Linked DNA regions of Homo sapiens: region 1 is linked to region 2. The links are contacts of gene promoters, found by promoter capture Hi-C in human tissues and cell types (Jung and others, 2019). All regions are on one chromosome and are shown on one strand. Each heading gives the region's core, a stretch centred on a gene start or on the middle of the fragment in contact. The rest is flanking DNA. Distances are from core to core; before and after follow the strand shown. Region 1 overlaps LOC102724680 (a long non-coding RNA gene). Region 2 holds the start of TSPAN19 (tetraspanin 19).

The links. Contacts are between HindIII fragments. The study calls those that stand out against the background at their distance.
Region 1: a fragment that was not itself captured here is called in contact with the fragment with the promoter of TSPAN19 in region 2 in 1 of the 25 tissues and cell types used here (hippocampus).

Annotation. Positions count from the first base shown.
Region 1 is chr12:84,989,434-84,994,040 of GRCh38, reverse strand. LOC102724680 (a long non-coding RNA gene) reads right to left here. Exons shown (of 4, transcript XR_945154.3): 4 at 1,384-1,471. Among named protein-coding and RNA genes, the nearest start is that of TSPAN19, 45 kb to the left of the region's middle. The HindIII fragment of the contact is 5,317 bases long and covers 671-4,607 here.
Region 2 is chr12:85,034,666-85,039,160 of GRCh38, reverse strand. It overlaps TSPAN19 (tetraspanin 19), which reads left to right and starts at 2,884. Exons shown (of 9, transcript NM_001100917.2): 1 at 2,884-2,957. It overlaps LRRIQ1 (leucine rich repeats and IQ motif containing 1), which reads right to left and starts at 2,810. Exons shown (of 27, transcript NM_001079910.2): 1 at 2,754-2,810; 2 at 853-1,008. The coding sequence starts at 984. The HindIII fragment of the contact is 3,053 bases long and covers 2,036-4,495 here.

The DNA.
Region 1 (4,607 bases), core at 2,080-4,579, 46 kb after region 2:
CACACCATATATATCTATTTCTATCCTCCATGTCTTTTAGTTTTTTGTTATTATTATTAATTTTAAAAATTTTACATTATTGTTTCTTGCTGCCTTCTGGAACAGTTCTTCAATCTGACCTTGCAACTCATCATTTCCTTCTTGAGCTGCTTCTATACTATTATTTTTCACATTAACTTATTTTGAGTATTTCTTATTTTGAGTATTACCTCTGTTATTTCCTCTGACCACATTTCCTTGGGACAATCAATGTTTTCCCTTAAACTTTAAAAGTTGGAAGCAATAGCCTAGATCATAGATTGTTAAAGGTGCTAAATTAGGAAGCACAGTAGATTTCACAGTTACAAATTCGAAACTTGTAATAAACAACAATTGCTTATTGTATTCTACTCTGAAGATCATCCAGAGTAATCACATTAACTCATTAGAGCAGACACAGGCTAAAACCTGGTTTTGGGCCCTTTCTCACATCTGTTATAATAACATAACATAACTCTAGAGACAAAAATAACCAGAAGCCAGAGGACTACCACTACTAGAGTGGAAAAAGGAAAGAAAAATTGAGCAGCATATGCCATCTAAGGTAGCATTATTATAACATATAAATCAAGAATTTAAAATAAGCCTGATAAATATACTTAAGGAGACAAAAAATATAGGATCAATTTGAAACTAGAACAAAATATTCCCCCAAAATTCCAAGTGAAAATATAAAGTATGAAAAATAAGTGTTTGGGAAAAAAAGTCAATGGAAGAAAAATTAGCATACATACTGATGGAGAATAAACTAGTGAATCGAAAAGTTCAGAATGAAAAACTCTCCCAGAATGAAGCTAAAGTATACTACACAAAAGAAAAGCCAAGAGGTTTGGAAGATAAACCAAGAAGTGACAAGTTTAGAAAGTAAAGAGGCCCCAAAGAGCAAAAGGAGAAAAATAAAGAGAGCAAAATATTTCACTTTGGAAATGTTCATCAGTGTCAAACAGAGATGCGGTGATTGAAAGTGTTGAGATAAAATTTCATAATGTGCAGAAGATATCATCATGTATTTTTTTAAAAAGCAATAGAACCAATGGCAATACTTTTTGAAGTAATGAGGTAATTGAGGCAGTTTTCTATGCTCAAAATCTTTCCTATTTGCTTTACCAATCATAATGAATTAAAAAATCTAATAAGAGGCACCACTTATCATAGTAACAATATCTATACAGTATGTTTCAATTAAAATCATCCAGAATGCAAAAAACTCTACAGAGAAAACTTAAGACTTTTTAAAAAGAAACATAGAAGACAATAGGAAAAATAGGAGTTCCATGCTCTTGGATGGAATGATATCATTTCTTCACAAATTAGTTCATCCATTTAATACAATCCCAATACAAATTCCAGTTGAACATATTTTTATTTGTTTATATTCTCTTGCATTTTTTAATCTGTAATTCCTTTTTCTTTTTCTCTTCTTACGTTGCTCCTAGTAGAGAAAAGAAAGCAAGATGTCATGCCCAGCATATTCTTCGTAGACTCTTTTTTAACACTGAAAATTGAAAATTATTTCCAACTTCCTTTTCCTTAAGTCCACAGTAACATTTTGCTTCCCCTGCCTGGGGGTCTTTCCCAGGCTGAACCCCTAAACTGAGCTTTATTTATGCTTTACTCTCCATTCAAAATGAAAGCTCAGATGGCATTAAACAATGTATTCAAGAATAAACTGAAAAATATTTTTCTCAGAGTCATTATTTATTGTTCTGTACATAAACCTAAATTTTTCAGAAAAAGTAAAATAGGTTGGCAAACAAGATCATCAGCAAGTTTTGAATCTGTGGATTCAAAAGAATTGGGCTTTGCTGTACTATGTTAGAGACTGATGTTTCTGTCTCCAATTCCTTTTCTCCATTTCATCTACATAAGCCTTAGCTAGACTTATGCCTACCTAGCTTAGGCTACAATTCCTAGCTTCTCTTTCTGCTAAGGTGGTGGATGTAATCACTTTCTGGTCAATGAATACAATTGGAAGTTATATTTTCAACTATAGGGTCATGCCCATAAAAATAAAAGTTTGTACCCTATCTCCCTTCCCCTTCCCACGGCTGAAATGTGGATGTGGTGGTAAACTACCTTTTGCTATGTGGACGAGGACCATATTTTAGGGGTGACAGAGCAATAAGATGGAAAATATCTGAGTCTCTAATAGTGAAGTCTCTGATAGCGAAGATGGCATGCGAACCCAGGAACATGGGACCAGACCACCAATTAAAAGAGAAACCTCTTTTAAGTTACTCTATGTTTAGTTTCTTCTTATAGAGTTTATCTTTTTATCTTTTTTTTTAATCTTTTTTGAGACAGGATCTCTCTGTTGCATAGGCTGGAGTGTAGTGGTGCCTCACAGCTCACTGCAACCTTGAACCTCCTGGGCTCAAGCAATTCTCCCACCTCAGTCTCCTGAGTAGCTAGAACTATAGGTGTGTGCCATCATACCTGTCTATATATATATATATATATATATATATATATTTTTTTTTTTTTTTTTAAAGAAATAGGGTCTTGTTTTGTTGCCCAGGCTGGTCTCAAACTCCTGACTTCAAGCAATCCTCCCACCTTGGCTTCCCAAAATGCTGGAATTACAGGCATAAGCCATTGTGTGCCAGGCCTTAGCTTTTATCTTATCATTCATAATTTACCTCCATAATTTGGTGTGTGAATCTTTGTTTGGAAGCAGTGAAATAAATAAATAATGAAACACTGTCCCTTTCATACCTGCCATAGGAGTGAATTGTACCAATGGATATAGTTGAGCATTGAGCTAAAACTCCAGCTTTATGCACATGCTGTATATGTGTGTTTCTGTGCATACATATGTGTAGATTTAAAATTCTTTGAATTATTACTTTAAAAAACCGAAGCTGTGACAAAGGTAAGTATAGTACTAGAGTTTAATAAAGAAACATCATTTTATGTATAAGCTTTCAGCTTTCTACATATTTAAAAATCTCCTCTTAAGATTTAAGAAGTGTATCTTATGTTTTCAAAACTGTTTTTTACAGTAGTTTAAAATTTTTAAATTTGTTAATAACCGTGTAGTTTGAGTGAGTTAATACTTTTTCTTAAGAAAAAAACAAAGTCTGGGTAGAATAATGACTGCATATGTGTAAATAAAATGCAAAAGTTTAGGATATTTTAACCAATATGCATCTTAAATATTCTTTAACTGTAATTACATAAATCATCTCATTTTCCCTTCACAACAACCTTTTCCACAGATAAGGAAACTGAGGCAGAGAGGCATGAAGTAACTTGCACTGTAACCTGCTTTTAGGACGTGAAAAGATCTGGGATTTGAACAAGCAGTCTGACTACAGAGTAACCTTTTCAACTTCTATTCTCTGAAGGTTGTTACCAGCTAAGCACCAGTCATGGGATTTACTGACGGCTAAGATTTGAGAAACACTGGAGCAAAAGTGTTCAAAAGCTCCCTTTTCTATGAAAACAGTAACTGATGAAAGGTTGTTTCTAAATTCGTTTATAATGACATAGCAGTGTTGCACTAGTGAATGTTCCTTTTATTGGGAACAAGCAGAGGTGACATACTTTTGTTCTGAAAAGTAGCTTCAAATCTATGAAAGTTTTTTATTTGTTTGTTTTGTTTTGTTTTGAGACAGAGTCTTGCTTTGTTGCCCAGGCTGGAGGGCAGTGGCGCTATCTCAGCTCACTGCAACCTCCACCTCCTGGATTCAACTGATTGTCCTGCCTCAGCCTCCCAAGTGGCTGGGATTACAGGCGCACACCACCATGCCCAGCTAACTTTTTGTTTTTTAGAGACTGGGTTTCACCGTGTTTCCCAGGCTGTTCTAGAACTCCTGAGCTCAGGCAATCCACCCACCTCGGCCTACTAAACTGCTAGGATTACAGGTGTGAGCCACCATGCCCGGCCTTGAAAGTTTGCAAGTTAGAGAAGTTTGTAAAAAGAGGAGCTCCTGATTATGACAAAGTAATGGCTAGTGGCTAGGACAAATTACAAATGAATCTAATCAGACTTAGTATGTAGACTTGGAGTAGGATCACATTTAATTATAATTCCCCTAAGACACGGGCATGAAATGGAATAAGCAATTTTTTTAAGCTAGTATTCCATTAATTATAGTCCCTTAAACTACTTATTGATAATTTATTAGATATTTGAGTTGGATTAGTAGATATTTTATTTTTAAGACGATAGACATTTGAATTAGAATTCAAATAAGAATTTTGTTATCAGGAGACTAGTGAAATGTGCAGAGAATTAGGAATTGGATATTTCATCTTTGAACTCTGTATAAACCACTTAATAGCTGTGAGACAATGGACAAATACATGGCCTCTCTGACTCTACATTTCTAAAACCCTAATTTAATAAAATTTATCTCTGAGCATCATTATCACTATTAAATAAACTAATATAGTTAAGTTACCTAATATTGTGCAGGACTCACAATATGTACTTAAAATGTCTTTATCCTTAACAGCATCCTCATTCCTCTAGTACTAAACTTGCTCCTGTATATTGCCCAATTTTATTACGTAAAAATCCTATTACCAATTAATAGAGCTGTCTCTATATAAATTTAGATTCA
Region 2 (4,495 bases), core at 1,635-4,134:
TACTCAAATAAAGAATTTCAGATTTTTTTGCCTCATTTAAATGAGCTCTGGATAAAAGACATAATAATGTAACAATGTTAATTTTTCTAAATGTAATAGGTAGGTTTAGTGCAATCCTAATAAAATAACAAAGTTCTCAAATCTTTAAAAAATTTTCTTTTTCAAAAAAAGCTTAGTTAAGATTTTCAAATGATAAAAAGATGTGAAGAATTTGGTCCACTCAATATTTACAAATATACAACAGTAGGAAAATAATGAATAAAGTAATGGAAAAGAACAGACAGCCTTGGATAGATCATATGTACAATAACTATCAGTAAGACATATGATAAATCAATTGAGAAAAATTAGATTATTAAACAAGAGACACTGGAAATATTAGCTCAATATGTGCAGGAGATTTTCAAATTAGTTCTACATTTCATAACATTCCTGAAAATAAATTCCAGTTGGATTAAGGATATTGGTATAAATGAATAAATCTATGAATAAACTCTGAAGCATATAAACATTGGTAAATATACACAAATAAAAGGATAATTTGTTTTATTTCCAAAAGTAACCATTTTGATATGTCAAAAGATTTCATATACATTTTTCTTCCCATGTAATTTAATCATGCTAAAATGTTCACAAGTAAAAACAAAAATCAGGATATAAATATATATAATGATAATCCCAATTTTACGAAGATGTATAGGTGACTATATATATTCAATATAATTTATATTTATATAAATTGTTTATAACAATGCTGCTAAAAATGAGAAGTACATAAAAACATCCTGAGAAAAGTAATATTTCTCCTGAAAAGCCTACTCCTGTTAAAAGGCTCAAAAGTGCAATACTCACTGTATCACTATCATCACTCTGGGTTTCTGATTTTGCATCACTCTCAATGTCTTCTTTTTCCAAGGAGGAAATGCTGAGTTTATCCAATTCAGCTTCTATTTCTGCTTTGAGCTTTGCATCATCATCGTCCATTATTCTTCATAATAAAGCACAGAACTGCTTTAAAAAATGAAGAGGCTAATATGTCACTAAAAATTATGTGTTCTCTAATTTGTCATACCAATCCAACATATTTATTTAAATATGTTTTAATTTAACAAACTTTTATCACACCTTATTATGGTTACACCAAACATTGTTTTATCTCTTCAATCATTCTTTTTAAACTTTGACTACAAAATGATCAACTGTAATTGTACGCTAATACTCTTATTGATTTATATGTTTATATAATTTTACTATATATAATAAAGATCAGAATTGTTTATAAAATTTTTGTTTCAGTTATTAATACATATAAATGTAGGTATGTATGCATGAGTTGCAATGTAATATGTGTTGTTGTTAATGTTCTGTTTTTTATTTTTCACTGTTGGTCTTAGTCCCAAAAAAGGTTTGAAAACGTACTAGTCAGCTATCATTTTATTTTTCATGACACTAGTTTAAACCTTTCTTTCTTTACTCAAGGGCCTGACCTTTCCACCTGTCTTCTTGTTCTTTTCTTCATTCCTTCTTTCCATCCTCTTTCCCTTTCGTTAATTCCTCCTTTCACTCTACTCAATCATCTCAAAATCAGTTCTACCCATAACTTCCACCCTCACTCACTCACTCAAAAATAAAAAATAAAATAAAAAAAGGAAAAGAAAGAAAAGAAAAGAAAAACAAAGTGAAATGGAACTCCAGACAGAACCAGGGCAAAATATTATCCTGCAATGGAACTCAAAGTGCATTTAAAAAGCTTTATTAGAAGGAAAGCTAGATTTTTTTTTTATGCCTACAAAGCAAAATGCACGGGTATACTAAACTTTATATAGAAAGAGAGGCAGGAGAGTATGGTGGAGGTAAGAGTCATTTCCTTTACATGACTTTCTCTGTTCATCTACTGGCTCATTAGATCACCCCTGTCCAATTACATATTTGAGCACTTACGCAAGTTTAAATTTTCTATTAGCAACTTTTTAAAAACAAAAGAGAAGTGCAATTAATTTTTATAATATATTTTATTTAACCCAATATATCCAAAATATTTCAACGTGTAATAACAAAATTAATTATTAATATCATTGCAAAGAGTTTATATTCTTTCTTTGGACAGTAATTCTTAGAAATCTGTTGTGTGTTTTACACCTGCAGCACATCTCAGTTAGGATTAGCTGCATTTCAAGTCCTCAGTAGCCACCTGCAGTTAGTGGTTACTGTATATGACGTGCAGTCATGGATGGGTCTCACTGTAAATGGGCTACATTAAAGTGCTCTAAGTTGATAACGAATCACTTGGAGTTCACTAAAGCTGTCAAAAGTAGAAAAGCTTAAGGAACTCCCCCTTCAACCCCTGTAAAGAAAGGGGAGAGAAATCTACTTTATAAGGTTCATATAAATTATATATTACCAAAAAAAAAAGAAAGAAAGAGAGACAGAAAAAGAAAGGGTGGAAAGGAGGGCGACAAGAAGGGAAGGAAGGAAGGAAAATAACGTCAATTGGTTTGTGGGGAGCGGTGAGTGAGTAACCATCGAATGATCCCTACATAGCCAAGACATCTCTTTAAGTTTTGAATGAGTTCTCGAAATCTCCAGGGTGGAAGGGAGCCTCGAGCTTCGCAGAGTCGCACAGCCATCCCCTGACCCGCGGTCTCTCCCTTTGCTGGAAGTCTGGCCAGGCAGAGAGAGTCCCGGCTCGGCCTGAGCTCCCACAGCTGTTCACCTCCCTCAACGGGAATCCCAGTCTTAAGACCCCGGCTCACCCCTCAGCAGCGAGATTCCTTGGCTTTGTTGTAAGACAGCGCCCATAGCCGCTACACAAAGCGTATCCATGGCAACAGCCAATCACAAGGAAGAGACACCGGTTTTTCCCTACAGGTGCTCTAGAAGGACAAACAATCTCGATTCTAAATTGAAACGAACGCAGCATTTCAGGGACTGGATGAGGAGCTTACGGTTTTTTACAGGTAGATTTTAATATTTAAGTAACTTTGGAAAATACTTAATAAAATGAAATTTTGTTATAATTACCCAAGTAGATGTAATCTCACTTTTAAATTTTTTAAATTGTTTCTGAGCTACATATATTTATATTTCCATCTGGTGATTTGCCCATGTATAAGGTGTTCATTCCACAAACCCTTAATCCTGAACAGTGATTTGTGGGACATAGAAGTATGGAAGAGAAGTCAATAAGTTGTTTGCCTTCCATGACAACAGTTTTTTAAAAAAGAAAAGAAAAGAAAAAGGAAAAAAGAAAAAAATCATCAATCAATGCCCATCAAAAACCTCTAACTGAAGGGATGTGGGTGAGAAATTTGAAAAATTATTTTCTGGAGTTATTTTACTGTAAAAATATTGTCACACAGTATTTCAATATAAAACCTTAATTTCTAAGTTTATGTCATGCTATTTAATTTTAACTTAATTTATTAAAGTTTTTTGTGGAGCAAATACATAGGGTACAAAATAATATTTTAATTAATAACATATTTTTTACTTTAATTTTCTTTTAAAGTTTGCAAATAAGGCATTAAATTCTAAAAGGAAGTAGCCATAATTGTAAAAGGTATCTGCTATAAAATAAGCTAAAAGCAAATATTTCACTGAGCCTCTGGAAAAAAAATAGACTACATTTCCTGGTAACAATAAACTTGAATTGCATCAACATAAGAACTAATAATATAAAGTGAGACGTTAATAGATTTCTCATATTAAAAGCACACATGTTAGTTTCCTTTTCAGGAAAGATGATTTTAAAAAATAAACTACACTTGGTTTCAGGTCTAATTAAATTCAGAGTATTTTCATTATCAAAGTCCATGCTCAAATGGAATTTGTTCTTTTTTTTAAGTTTGGTTTTATTGCTGATTTATAGACTATTGAAATTATCTATTTTTTATTGTTTTTTTAGAGACAGGGTCTCCCTCTGTTGCCCAGGCTGGAGTGCAGTGGTACAATTATTGCTCACTGTAGCCTCCAACTCTTGTACTCAAGTAATCCTCCCGCCTTGGCCTCCCAAAGCACTGGGATTATAGGTATGAGCTACTGTGTTCGAACCTCAAACTGTTCATTTAAAATAGACTTTCATATTGTGTTGAAGTTCACATAAGAATCTTAAGATTAGTTTTATTTTTGATTGTGAAACTATCCAGACTTCTAAAAATTATAAATCCTTTAATAATTTCAAAATTAATTTTGAATAACTAGTTTTCATAATCAAATAATTTTGGAAATAATGCCTTAGTTCCTTTCCTTCTCAAAGCTTACTTTGTCAAATATTGACAGCAAAAAAGAAAAACAGTGAAAGATTTTCTGAAGATAAATTAATTCATGGTGATAGATCTCCTATATTGTCATGCGATTTTTTACTTTGGAAGAAAGGACAACTTTATCAATTAGTCATAATTTCGCTAGAATATAACTAATCAAAAATAAAAGGCAGCAGTTATCTAATACATTTGTAGATTATAAGTAAATTTAACTTGACACTGTTGTTTATCAA